Linked DNA regions of Homo sapiens: region 2 is linked to region 1. Evidence: promoter capture Hi-C in human tissues and cell types (Jung and others, 2019). All regions are on one chromosome and are shown on one strand. Each heading gives the region's core, a stretch centred on a gene start or on the middle of the fragment in contact. The rest is flanking DNA. Distances are from core to core; before and after follow the strand shown. Region 1 holds the start of SPINT1 (serine peptidase inhibitor, Kunitz type 1). Region 2 overlaps DNAJC17 (DnaJ heat shock protein family (Hsp40) member C17).

What was found. Contacts are between HindIII fragments. The study calls those that stand out against the background at their distance.
Region 2: a fragment that was not itself captured here is called in contact with the fragment with the promoter of SPINT1 in region 1 in 2 of the 25 tissues and cell types used here (IMR-90 fibroblasts and lymphoblastoid cells).

What each region holds. Positions count from the first base shown.
Region 1 is chr15:40,840,641-40,847,368 of GRCh38, reverse strand. SPINT1 (serine peptidase inhibitor, Kunitz type 1) reads right to left here and starts at 3,321. Exons shown (of 11, transcript NM_003710.4): 1 at 3,183-3,321; 2 at 2,340-2,879. The coding sequence starts at 2,814. SPINT1-AS1 (SPINT1 antisense RNA 1) reads left to right here and starts at 2,845. Exons shown (of 2, transcript NR_146468.1): 1 at 2,845-3,190. RefSeq lists silencers at 2,640-2,879, 3,170-3,229, 3,310-3,539, 3,701-3,883 and an enhancer at 3,177-3,748. The HindIII fragment of the contact is 27,771 bases long and covers 1-6,728 here.
Region 2 is chr15:40,778,236-40,784,963 of GRCh38, reverse strand. It overlaps DNAJC17 (DnaJ heat shock protein family (Hsp40) member C17), which reads left to right. Exons shown (of 11, transcript NM_018163.3): 2 at 4,967-5,036; 3 at 5,361-5,419; 4 at 5,654-5,741. Among named protein-coding and RNA genes, the nearest start is that of C15orf62, 12 kb to the right of the region's middle. The HindIII fragment of the contact is 4,719 bases long and covers 1,057-5,775 here.

The sequences.
Region 1 (6,728 bases), core at 2,072-4,571:
CGTCACCCAACCCACCTCATCCACCCTAGCCCTTAATGGCTCTACCCTGTCATTACCCACCTCCAACCTCTCTAACTGGACCCAGGTGAGAATAAACCCCTTGACACACACACAGCTTTTTCCTCTTCCCAAAGCACTGCAGCACTCTAAGAATGGCCTAGAATGGCCTGGAGCTCATACTAAGTCCAAGCCCTACCTGCCTCCCTCAATGTCCCAGGAAATCCCCACTCCACCCTCTCTTGTGGCAAACAGGCAGGTCCTGGGGGTTTCCAGATGAGGATGGCTGGTCTCAAGACCATGGGGCCATAGTCCAGCTAAGCTCCCTGACCAGACTCCAGAATTTCACACTCTGGCTCTGGAGAGGGACTCCCATGGGGCCTCTGTGGAGCAGGAAGGGCATGAGCAACTCAGGTCAGTAAGAGTCATCACCACCTACACTTTCTGCTACTTCCTTGTGGAACAGGCTGCAGCCCTGGTTCAGTGGGACTTGGTGGCCCAGACTGGCCCTCAGATATGTCCCCCTCCCATCCACAGGAATCCCCATCTCGCCTCTCCTCAGAGACCCAGGAGAGCTACTGGAAGGATAGGGAGGAAAGAGGACCCTCCTTAGCCTGGCAGAGAGACTAGCCCAGGAAAAGTCTGCGGAGGAAAGCCCTTTCTCCACTTTCCAGAACGGAGACCACCCCCAGATGTGGCCCCAGCCCAGTTCTGGCCCCCAAACTCCCCAATCCCCGGTTCTGTTATCCACTGGGCTATTTTGGGTCAGAATGCTAGGTTTTTACCAGAGAGATGGTCTTGTGTGAAAAACAGCACAGGACTTTTTTTGGAGGTCTCCCCTGGGGTGAATCTCAGGCCTACCATTTATGGGCAGTGTTACCCTGGGCAAATTCTTTAACATGGGAGTCTTAGTTTCCTAATCTAAAAAGTGGGATGACTGCTAGTAGCACCCTTTTTGGAAGTTGTTGTGATGAGGCCTGAGTGAGAGGATGTGTGGCACAGCAATCAGTAAGCTGTAAAGTGCTCACAGAGGTTATGAGAGGTGACCTACCCCTGCCCTGGAGCCCCACCTGGCCAGAACAGCAGGTAGAGAGAAAGGGGGAACCAAGGCTCTGGACTGGCCCTGATCCCAGCAGACAGTTCAGTCCGGGGAAGAAAGAGGAGGAGCCCTGGCCTCCGCTTTGCCTTTATCTATGGAAGTAAACAAGGTTTGGCTACCAGATTCTAAGCAGGGAGAGCCCTGTCTGGCTCATGCGCATGCACACACACCTGCCTGGACAGCTGACATCCCTTCCCTACTAGGTATACATACCAACAGGCTGACTCACCCCACAACCCTCCTCATCCCCCACCCCAGAGCCTCTAGGCTTCTGTGCCTACAACATCACTTCTCTCCCTTTGGATCAACCGCAGACTGGGCTTGTTTTCTAGTCTCGGATCTGGCAGTCTTCCTGGACCACCAAAAGGCCAATGCATTCCTAGGGGGTAGAGAGATGCTAAGCAGTCCCAAGTCCAGCCAGTGGAGGAGACTATGGCCAGGCTCACCTGACAGGGCATCGGTGTGCCCAGACCAGTGCTTGGCCAAGGTGCCTTTCTAGTCACCAGACCATCCAGACAGCTCACTCCTTCAATCAGCCTATCAGTGCCAGAGGTCAGGAGTCCTGGGGACTTCCTCTCCCCTCCAGTACACACAGCCCAGAGCCAAAGGCCTCCCTGTGAGCACCAGCCCATCACCTCTGAACATCCTGAGTTCAGGAGCCAGAGCCTGGGCCCTGCCCTCCCTACTCATGTCCCCTTTCATTTGTTTACTGTTTGTACTGCCTACTACCGATGTGAAGGCGATCTGGCTGTGACATCTGTCACCCCATTGATCACCAGGCTTGATTCGGCTGTACTGCCTACTTCTAAGGAGGGCTTCAGGTAGAAATAATCCCAGCACTTTGGGAGGCCAAGGTGGGTGGATCACCTGAGTTCAGAAGTTCAAGACCAGCCTGGCCAACATAGTGAAACCCCGTCTGTACCAAAAAAAAAAAAAAAAAAAAAAAAAAAAAAATTAGCCGGGTCTGGTAGCGGGTGCCTGTAGTTCCAGCTACTCCGGAGGCTGAGACAGAAGAATCACTTGAACGTGGAAGACGGAGGTTGCAGTGAGCAACCAGAGATTGCGCCATTGCACTCCAGCCTGGGCGACAAGAGCGAGACTCCGTCGCAAAAAAAAAGAAAGAAAAAGAAAAAAAAAAGTGAACTCTCCTTAACTCCTCTCTGATGTTCGTCTCCCCTAGGACCCCATAACCAGTCCCTTTTTTGAGTCTCTCCAAACCCATCCATCTTGGCACCCTCCTCACCTCCAAAGCCCTGGGTCCGCAGCTGGCGGTAGGAGCGGTACACTTCCCTCGTGAGGTAGTTGATGAAGCCCTCCCTGGGCGCGAACTTGCACACGAAGTTCTGCTCGTAGAGGCAGTTGATGAGGAAGCAGGCGGCGATGGCGTCCTCCCCGCGGTCGGGCTGCAGCTCCACTAGCGCCAAGTTGCAGTTCTGGGTGGTGCAGCAGGCGCGCACGCAGTCCCAGCCCCGGCGCACGGTGGGGGACTCCAGGAAGGTAGCTCCGTTGCTGACCGAGGCGTTGGTGTCCAGCACGAAGCCAGGCACCCCGGCGGTAAAGCTGTTCAGGCAGTCGGCTCCCGCGGGCAGCCCAGGGGGCGCGGGCGGTGGCCCGGCCTGGGTGCCCTGGAGGCCGAGCGTGCACAGAAGCCACAAGGCGACGGCAGGGATGCCGGCCGGGGCGAGGCGGGCGCGGGCCATCGTCCTCGCAGGGGCCATCGCCTTCCTCCCCAGGGGGGTCACCTTCAGAGCGCGGGCCTCTGGGTTCCGAGGGTGCTGGTGACCTGAGAAGAAGGGAGGGGACAGAGGAGGAGACACACCTGATCAGCCCGGGAGACTTTGGAGGAGGCGGGCCGGCCGGGAGGAAGTGGCGGGGAGGAGGGACCGGAGCACCCCAGGATCGAAGAGGGCGCACGGGCCCGGCCCTCCCACGCGCCCTCCAGGGACCCGGCAGCCAGACAGACGGACAGGCGGACCGCTAGGGAGCTCAAGTACCCGGACACACGCACGAGCGCAGAACAAAGGGCCGGACATGCTCCAGCCCGCTCCGCCTGCGCCTCGGCCTTGCGCGCGGGGGCCCGGGTTACCTGCGCAGGTGAGTTGGGTGGGGCCGGGTCCGCCGAGGTTCCGGTCCCAGCTTCCTGCGCGGCTCGGGTCGCGGCTTCCGACCCGGTGCTCGGAGAGCTGGGGCTCGGCCGCCTTCTCCCCCTGGTTTCTGGTGAAACTGAGTCAGCGCCGTCGGGGCGGGGCCGACATTCACCCTTGCGCTGCCGGCCCCGCCCACGCCCGGTGCGCTGCGGCCGCCTCTAGCGCGGAGCTCCAGGCCCGGCCCGCCCCGCGGCCCCGCAGCCCCGGTGCCTCCCCGGCAGCCAGCTCCCCGGAGGGGCTCTCGGGCTCCACCCAGTCCAGCCTCGCGAGGGAGCCCCGCGCCCGAAGCGCATACCCAGCCGGGAGGGGATGCGGCCGGGACGCGAGGGTCCGGCCTCTGGGGCGGCGGCCTCCAGTCTTCCTTTCCGGCCGGGGCCTGCTTTCCCAGCCCCAGACCTGAGGCCCGATGCAAATGATCTTTCCGGCCCTCAGGAAATCATTTCCATTTCGTGGCGGGAAGGTAACCCAAAAGTTGCGTGGCTGCACCTGTGATAACAGGGATCCGGGATGTCTGCCTCACTGTCAGCTCCGGGAAGCCCTCCCTGCTGTCAGGGTGAGAAACGGAGGCGATTCCCCGCGTCCAGGCTCCCCTGCGTGCTCCACGGGGCTTCCCTGTTGTTCGAGGCCCCTCCTCATCTTGTATGTACAGTTCGGTCCATTCCCTGCTATGGCTCATTGGACTGTTGCCCCCTTCCCTGGAGCCCAGGCTTCCTCTCTTTCACAAAGGGGACGCTGCTGGCTACTTTCTTCCAGGGAAATGTCATCCTTGGAAGCCTGGAGGTTCCAGTTCACCAAGTAGCTGAGTTAATGCCCTTCACGAAACAGTGGACTCCTTGAAGCCAAGCTCATTGCTCCTCCTGAGTAAAAAACTCTTAAGAGACCATTCTCTACGGCAAGGGTCTGAACAGGTGAAAGACAGATGAAGGCAGGGCTGGAGGAAGGAATCACATAGCATGCTCTCTTAAAATACAGATTCCAAACCTTTTCCTGATGGCTTAACAACCCCCAAACCAATGGGAACATTCTTCCCAGTTTCTCATCCAGAGCAGCTTTGCCTAGCAGATCCTGTGGCCAACCCTTGGATTTTGCTGAACTGCAACATCCTCCAGCTGCTCACATGATGCGTGTTGGGGTGGGAATCTGGGGCCTGTCTCCCCTTCTCTGGATGTTTAGGGTTTATCCACAGACCCTGGCACACTGGTGGATATACAACAATGGTGGTATGCTGGGAATGAAGAAAATGATTGTGCAGTCACTGGGAAGAAAGGGTTTTGTTGTGATTTGATTTCCCCTTATGGCTAACACATTCAAGAATCTTTATTTATTTATTTATTTATTTTTTTTTTTTTTTTTTTGAGACGGAGTCTTGCTCTGTCACCCAGGCTGGAGTGCAATGGCACGATCTCGGCTCACTGCAACCTCTGCCTTCCAGATTCAGGAAATTCTGCCTCAGCCTCCCAAGTAGCTGGGCTTACAGGTGGGCACCACCACGCCGAGCTAATTTTTGTATTTTTAGTAGAAACGAGGTTTCACCTTTTTGGCCAGGCTGGTCTTGAACTCCTGACCTCAGGTGATCCACCCACCTCGGCCTCCCAAAGTGCTAGGATTATAGGCGTGAGCCACTGTGCCTGACCTCAAGAATCTTAATACAGGAAAATATTACCTTATGGTAATATTACATCACCATAAATTTATCATTACATCCATTATACACACCATTATAAAAACCAACATGAATTCAGCACTGACAATGCCCAAACTCTGTTCCTAAGCACTGCCCACATATTACCCTATACTCAAAACAAACCTAGGGAGGTAGTATTTTTAGCCCCATTTTACAAATGAGCAAACAGGCTCAGACAGGTAAACTGACTTGTCAGGTCATTCAGCATTGAAGCGGCAGAGTAGGGATTGGAGCCCAGGCAGGCCAATTCCATGGCTTCAGTGCTTAAACCCTGGGCTTTATGGCCTTTGCAATTCTGACTTCATCTGGAAGTTCTGCCCTCACCTCAGATTCAACTTGCTTAAACCCATAACTCACTTTCAAGTGGTGAGCACCCACCATTTGTTGAGATGCCCACTGTGTTCCCTCCAGGCACTTGACATAGGATTGCTAATGCTCAGGACAACTCTAAAAATTGCTTCCACTTTGCAGAAAGGTTCACTGACTCCATCAAGGTCAGGTAGTGAACGAAGAGTGGTGACAGGTTGTAGAGAAGTTGAACTTGTGAGCTTCAGACTCAGACTACTGGATTTAGCTCTTGCATCTGCCACTTACTATTCGTGTGGCCTTGTGCAAGTTATTTGATCTCTCTGCCTTAGTCTCCTTGAATGGGAAGTGGGGCTTCATAAGGTTTTTTATGAGGATTAATTGAGTTAATGCAGACAAAGCATTTGACACAAAGAGTTCTCAATAAATGTTACTTGAAACGACAACAACAACAACAACAAAAACACATGGTGGTGAGGATGCAGAGAAAAGGGAACGCTTATACATTGTTGGTGGGAATGTAAATCAGTTCAGCCACTGTGGAAAGCAGCTTGGAGATTTCTCAAAAACTTAGAACTACCATTCAACTCAGCAATCCTATTACTGGGTATATACCCAAAGGAAAATATATTGTTTTTCCAAAAAGACACATGCACTTGTACGTTCATCACAGCACTATTCACAATAGCAAAGACATGGAATCAACCTAGATGCCCATCAATGATGGATTGCATAAAGATAATGTACTTCATACGTACCATGGAATACTATGCAGCCATAAAATTAACAAAATCATGTCCTTTCCAGCAATACGAATGCAGCTGGAGGCCATTATCCTAAGCAAATTAAGGCAGGAACAGAAAACCAAATACCACATATTCTCACTTATAAATGGGAGCTAAGCATTGAGTACACATGGACATAATGATGGAACAATAGACACTGAGGACTACCAGAAGAGAGAAGGAGGGAGGGGAGCGTGGGGAGCGTGGGCTGAAAAACAACCTTTTAGGTAATATGCTCACTACCTGGGTGACAGGCTCATCTGTACCCCAAACCCTATACCCATGTAACAAACCTGCATGTGTACCCACTGAATCTAAAATAAAAGTTGAGGCCAGGTGCAATGGCTCATGTCTGTAATCCAAGCACTATGGGAGGCTGAGGCAGGAGGATTGCTTGAGCCCAGGAGTTCAAGACCAGCCTGGGCAACATGGCAAGACCCCGTCTCTATAAAAAAAAATACAAAAAATTAGCCAGGCATAGTGGCGCATGCCTGTAGTACCAGCTACTCAGGAGGTTGAGGTGGGGGGATTGCTTGAGCCAGGGAGGTCAAGGTGGCAGTGAGCTATGATCATGCCACTGCACTCCAGCATGGGTGAAAGAACTAGACCCTGTCTCAAAAATAAGTAAACAAAATAAAAGTCGAAATGATTCTTTTAAAAAAGTGACAGAGCCAGGATTGTATCTGAAGTCTTTTTGACATTAAAAGCCA
Region 2 (6,728 bases), core at 2,167-4,666, 62 kb after region 1:
ACCATGCCCAGCTAATTTTTGTATTTTTAGTAGCGACGGGGTTTCACCATGTTGGCCAAGCTGGTCTCCAACCCCTGACCTCAGGTGATCTGCCCGCCTCAGCCTCCCAGAGTGCTGGGATTACATGTGTAAGCCAACACGCCCGGCCCAGAGATATTTTTATATTTTTGTATTTCCATCTGTTGGGGATGAAAGTCCTAGCCTCCCTGTTTGGCTTTATCTGACACCACTCTGGCAGAGGTTTAGGGTAGCAAGAATGGAAGTCTATGCTCTCTACCTGGCCTTTGATGGCATGGGTGGGGTGGTGTCCACTGTTTTTTCTGTGGTAATTGGCTGGAGTAGAATAGTTTTTGCCTAAAGTAATGTTTGTATGGCTTTTCATTGAATGGATTTTGGGTATCATAATTAACCCTTATGTCACAGTTTCCTCATTTGTAAAATGAGGAGGATAATAATTTCTACCTCATAGGGGCTTTAAGAATTAAATAAGTTAATATATGTAAAGCATATTTGACAATATGAGTGGATTTTTCAGCTTGAATAATTTTATTTTCCTATTACAGTGAAAAACCAAAATTCCAATATAGAACATTCAAAATAAATTATGAAACACAAAAGAATATTTATCATTCCCTTAGAATAAAATTCAGAAAGCATTCTCTCAAAAAAAGGAAAGAAAATGAAGGAGATGCCACTGCTGGACACCCCTTCTGTCTTGCTTTCTTACTGCTCCTTCTTTTTTTTTTTGAGACAGAATTTTATTTTTGTCGCCCAGGCTGGAGTGCAGTGGTGCAATCTCGGCTCACTGCAACCTCCGCCTCCCAGGTTCCTGCCTCAGCCTCCCTAGTAGCTGGGACTACAGGCGTGTGCCACCACGCCCAGCTAATTTTTGTATTTTTGGTAGAGACGGGGTTTTACCACGTTGGCCAGGCTGGTCTCGAATTCCTGACCTCAACTGATTCGCCCGCCTCAGCCTCCCAAAATGCTGGGATTACAGGCGTGAGCCACCACACCCAGCCTGCTCCTTCTTCTTCACACTCACTTCTACTCCCCCTCTCAGATTTATAACAAGGAACATACAAACTTTTATTTTATTTTTTTGAGACAGAGCCTTACTCTGTCACCCAGGCTGGGGTACAGTGACACGATCTCAGCTCACTGAAGCCTCTGCCCCCCGGAATCAAGTGATTCTTCTGCCTCAGCTTCCCCCATAGCTGAGATTACAAGCATGCACCACCACACCCGGCTAATTTTTATATTTTTAGTAGATACAAGTTTCACCATGTTGGCCAGGCTGGTCTCAAACTCCAGACCTCAAGTGATCCACCCACCTCGGCCTCCCACAGCGATGGGATTAGAGGTGTGAGCCACCATGCCCAGCCTAAACCACTTTAAAAGAGCCCCATGATACAAAAGAAAACATCTTCCACAAAACCCCCCTACATCCCTGGGGCAAGCCTACTAGTCCTAGTCCTGAGGAAGTTCATCTTGAAGGTAGTGTTGCAGGTGATGCCATAGATACTGGGACATGGACCGCCTCCCCCTCCCTTCCTCTCACCCATCCCAGAGAGAGGGTGGAGATAGGATCAGAGAGGAGGGGCCCAGAGGCCAGGAACAAACACCCAACAGACTCCTGTCAGTGTGTGTAGGTGCTTTTATATGTGTTAATGAACCTTGATGTCAGAGGGCTGGGGAGATTGAGAAAGAACATCTTTATAATGTTTTTGGTATTGTTTTACTTATTGAAAAAAAGCAAACAGGGGCCCTGAAATATAAAATATGTTCAGTAAAGGAATGAGGCTGGAGGCACAATAAAGCAGGCAAAGAGAGCAAAAGAAAGAAAAGACGAATGATAAGGGACCTAAAAAGTAAAGATGATATATTGCAAAGATGACACTGTCTTAAGCTAGCACCTCCTTTCCCTTAATATTGTTCTTTTTTGTAGTGAAAACAGAGCTAGGCAGGGAGGGTTAGGGTGGGAGGTGAGCAGGCAGGGCAGATGTGCTTCGGTGGGCGATTGGGAAGGCAGGTGGCACGTCTACACCCTCTCTGCCCAGCGCCTGTCCTGGGTGGTTCCTGCTGCCTCCAAGGCAGTCAGGAGAACCAAACAGCTTGGGCTGCCATGGCAGGTGCCCTGGCTATGGCCCAGCAGGTGGCAGCACACCCCTAGAGGTCCTGGGCCCGGTGGCTGCCTCATGGATGGAGGAGTTGCCCAGCAGGTGCTCACCTTGTGGATGCTGGCTGCTTACCTCTGAAAGTCCTTATTTAGCACACTTGGGTGTAGAAGCGTTTCTTGCGTCCATCTTGGAAGCTTAGAAATCCAATCTGCTTAGCTCTTCCTCCAGGAGGTTTGAGCAGCAGGTAACACACACCAAGCAGAAGGGAGAAAGCAAAGGCCTTGGAGGCAGAGGACGGATTCTGGGGTTGTGTACACTGTCTTCACTTACAACAGCTATTAGGTAGCACACGAAAGAGAATCTTGGTAGCTGTGTTTATTTTTACTTATGTAAGAAATATTGGGGTTTCTTTCTTTCTATGTATTTAAGAGAGAGTCTTGCTCTGTCACCCAGGCTGGAGTGCAGTGGCATCATCATAGCTCACGGCAGCCTCAAAATCCTTGGCTGAGGTGATCCTCCCTCCTCAACCTCCTTAGTAGCTGGTACTGCAGGCACGCACCACTATGCCTGGCTAATTTTTTATTTTATTTTAATTTAATTTAAAATTTTTTTATTTTTATTTTTGAGACAAGGTCTCACTCTGTCACCTAGGCTGAAATGCAGTGGTGTGAACATGCTCACTACAGCTTCAACCTCCCGGGCTCCAGTGATCCTCCCACCTCAGCCTCCTGAGTAGGGGGACAAAGGCACATGCTACCACACCTGGCTCATGTTTAAAAAATTTTTGTAGAGATGAGGTCTTGCCATGTTGCCCAGGCTTGGCTGGAACTCCTGGGCTCAAGCGATCCTCTCGCCTCAACCGCCTGAGTAGCTGGGACTACAGGCATGCACCACCACACCTGACAAAAAAAAATTTTTTTTTTTTGAGACAGAGTCTCATTCTGTCTCCCAGGCTGCAGTGCAATGGTGTGATCTCGGCTCACTGCAACCTCTGCCTCCCAGGTTCAAGCGATTCTCCTGCCTCAGCCTCTCGAGTAGCTGGGACTACAGGCGCCCGCCACCATGCCTGGCTAATTTTTTTGTATTTTTAGTAGAGACGGGGTTTCACCGTGTTAGCCGGGATGGTCTCAATCTCCTGACCTCGTGATCCACCTGTCTCGGCCTCCCAAAGTGCTGGGATTACAGGCTTGAGCCACCGCACCTGGACTAAACTCAAAAGTTTATAATAAGATCTATGTCAGAACATGGATACCTCTGTCTACTATAATATTTTATTTAAAAAAAATTTTAATAAGCGTGGCAAATTCCTGAACAAACTTTTTGAAATTTATTTTTTATTATTTTTTTGAGACAAGGTCTCCCTCTGTCACTCAGGCTAGAGTACAATGGCATGATCTCGGCTCACTGCAACCTCCGCCTCTGGGGCTCAAGTGATTCTCCTGCCTCAGCCTCCCAAGTAGCTGGGTCTACAGGTGCACGCCACCATGCCCGGCTAATTTTTGTATTTTTAATAGAGACAGGGTTTTGCTTTGTTGGCGAGGCTGGTCTCGAACTCCTGACCTCAAGTGATCTGCCCACCTCAGCCTCCCAAAGTGCCAGGATTACAGGCATGAGGATTACAGGATTACATGCCAGGATTACAGGATTACACCATGTCTGGCCAATCATAATCTTTTTTTTTTTTTTTTTTTTTCTGAGATGGAGTCTCGCTCTTGTCCCACAGGCTGGAGTGTAGTGGCACAATCTTGGCTCACTGCAACCTCTGCCTCCTGCATGAATCAAGCGATTCTCATGCCTCAGCCTCCCAAGTAGGGGGATTACAGGGGAATATGTCATCACACCCAGCTAATTTTTGTATTTTTAGTAGAGATGGGGTTTCGCCATGTTGGCCAGGCTGGTCTCCTACTCCTGACCTCAAGTGATCCACCCGCCTCAGCCTCCCAAAGTGCTGTGATTACAGGCGTGAGCCACCATGTCCGGCCTCAATCATAATCTTTTATTTTATTTTTTATTTTATTTTATTTTATTTTATTTGAGACAGAGTCTTGCTCTGTCGCCAGGCCGGAGTGTAGTGGTGCGATTTCGGCTCACTGCAACCTCCGCCTCCTCGGTTCAAGCGATTCTCCTGCCTCAGCCTCCCAAGTAGCTGGGATTACAGCTGCCCGCCACTATGCCTAGCTAATTTTTGTATATTTAGTAGAGATGGAGTTTCACTATGTTAGTGAGGCTGGTCTCAAACTCCTGACCTCAGGTGATCTGTCCACCTCAGCCTCCCAAAGTGCTGGGATGACAGGCGTGAGCCACCGCACCGGCCAATCATAATCTTTTAAATGAGTCTCCCCGTTGATGGGGATCTTGGCTGGCTAGTATCAACAGTGTTGTAGAGAGCATCCTTGTATATTTATTTTTGCCATACTTCTACAAGTCCAGATTCCTAGGACTTGGGTCAAAGGGAAAGAACATTTTAAATTTTGATGGCTGAATTTTCTTCCAGATAGGTTGCCCCAGTTTATATGCCCACCAAGAATGTGTAGAGTACCTGTCTTCGAGTGGCTGTCGAGAAAGCGGGGTACTGTGCTCCTGCCTGTTGCAGCAGCCCCTGGACATCTGCAGTGGTGAGGTTGAGCACTTAGCAGGAGGTGGGCCCAGCTCCTGTGCTGGGCGACAGTGGCTCACTCCCTCCATGGCCTTGGCCTCCTCCATTGCCAGTCTCCCTGGTGGCTAGGAAGTGGGCGCCAGCAGCTTCTCTTTTAGGTGTGCATGGGATTCCCCTTACCCATTGAGCAAGGTTTTCCTGTTTGTCCCTGGGATGAGAGTGAATGGCCATGTCTTCTGTCTGACTCTTCCAGGTAAAGAAGGCGTATAGGCAGAAGGCCCTCTCCTGCCACCCAGACAAAAATCCAGATAATCCCAGAGCAGGTGAGACTCTTCTCAGGGCGTGGGGAGAAAGAAACCCACTCACCCGGGCATTGTGTTTCCCGATGTAAGCTCTGCATGTGAGTGCTGTGGGGTGTAAGCACACATTGCCTGGCTCCAGGCAATGGGTCCCAGGGCTTCCCTCCTGTGAGGGGTGTCTGGTCAGTTGCTGATATGCTCACCCCTCCTTGTTGGTCTGTCATCTGCTGATGTCGGCTTGTCTGCCATCCTGTGACTTCTTTGAAGATTTTTTTTTTTTTTGAGGGAGCACACCATTACGAAGTCTTAACTTTATTTTTCTTCTGTCTTTTTGATCCTTATGTTTAGCTGAACTCTTCCACCAGCTTTCTCAGGCCTTGGAGGTGCTGACCGATGCTGCAGCCAGGGTAAGCACAGCCTCCTTCATCGGAATCGTCCCCCATGGTTAGAGACCACTGCTGCCTCTCAACCTCGGTCCTCTGCCCTTTGCCATGTGGCACAGTCCTTGCTGTCTAAGCCCAGGAGACCCAGTCACCAGGCTGCCACTCTGATGGCTCGTGGGCTAGGGGCCAGGCAGATTGCCGGGGCTCTGTCTTTACTCTCTCACTGACCCTCTGCCCTGTGCCCCTTTCTCCTGCCAGGCTGCATATGACAAGGTCAGGAAAGCCAAGAAGCAAGCAGCAGAGAGGACCCAGAAACTTGATGAGAAAAGGAAGAAAGTGAAGCTTGGTAGGTGCCATCATAGTGCTCGGTGGCCTGTGGTTTCCTGTGGTCATTTTCATTCATCTCCCTCACCTGAAGCTTCACTTCCAGCAACTCATCTCAAAGCCTTTTGGCTCAGGCTCTGGGCAAAACGCTGTTCTTAGAGGTTGGTTCCTAAAGACACTCTTAGGAATAATAACAATAATAAGGTTTAATATTAGCTAAGCATTGTGACAAATGCCTTATTGTCCCTTTAATTATCATAACTATACAAGGAAGTGTGGGTACTAAACCTTTTTTAAGAACATGGTTTTTTGAGACAGGGTCTCACCCTGTCACCTAGGCTGGAGCGCAGTGGCATGATCTCGGCTCACTGCAACCCCCACCCTCTGGGTTCAGGCGATTCTTGTGCCTCAGCCTCACGATAGTGGGACTACAGGCATGCACCACTACGCCCGGCTAATTTTGTTCCGTTTTTTTAGAGATGGAGTTTCACCATGTTGGCCAGGCTGGTCTTAAACTCCTGGCCTCAAGCTATCCACCTCAGTCTCCCAAAGTGCTGGTATTACAGCTGGTGAGCTGCCGCACCTGGCCTCTGAAGCCATTTTTTATAGGCAAAGGAGCTAAGGCACCAAAAGTTTAAGAGCTTGCTGGAGGTGGGATTTAAACTTATCCAGTGTGAGTAAAATTGGTGCTTGTGGCCGGGCGCGGTGGCTCACGCCTGTAATCCCAGCACTTTGGGAGGCCGAGGCGGGTGGATCACGACGTCAGGAGTTCGAGACCAGCCTGGCCAAGATGGTGAAACCCCTTCTCTACTAAAAATACAAAAATTAGCTGGGTGTGGTGGCGGGTGCCTGTAATCCCAACTACTCGAGAAGTTGAGGCAGAGAATTGCTTGAACCCGGGAGGCAGAGGTTGCAGTGAGCTGAGATCACGCTGCTGTGCTCTAGCCTGGGTGACAGAGCAAAACTCCATCTCAAAAAACAAAACAAAACAAAAAAATTGGTGCTTGTA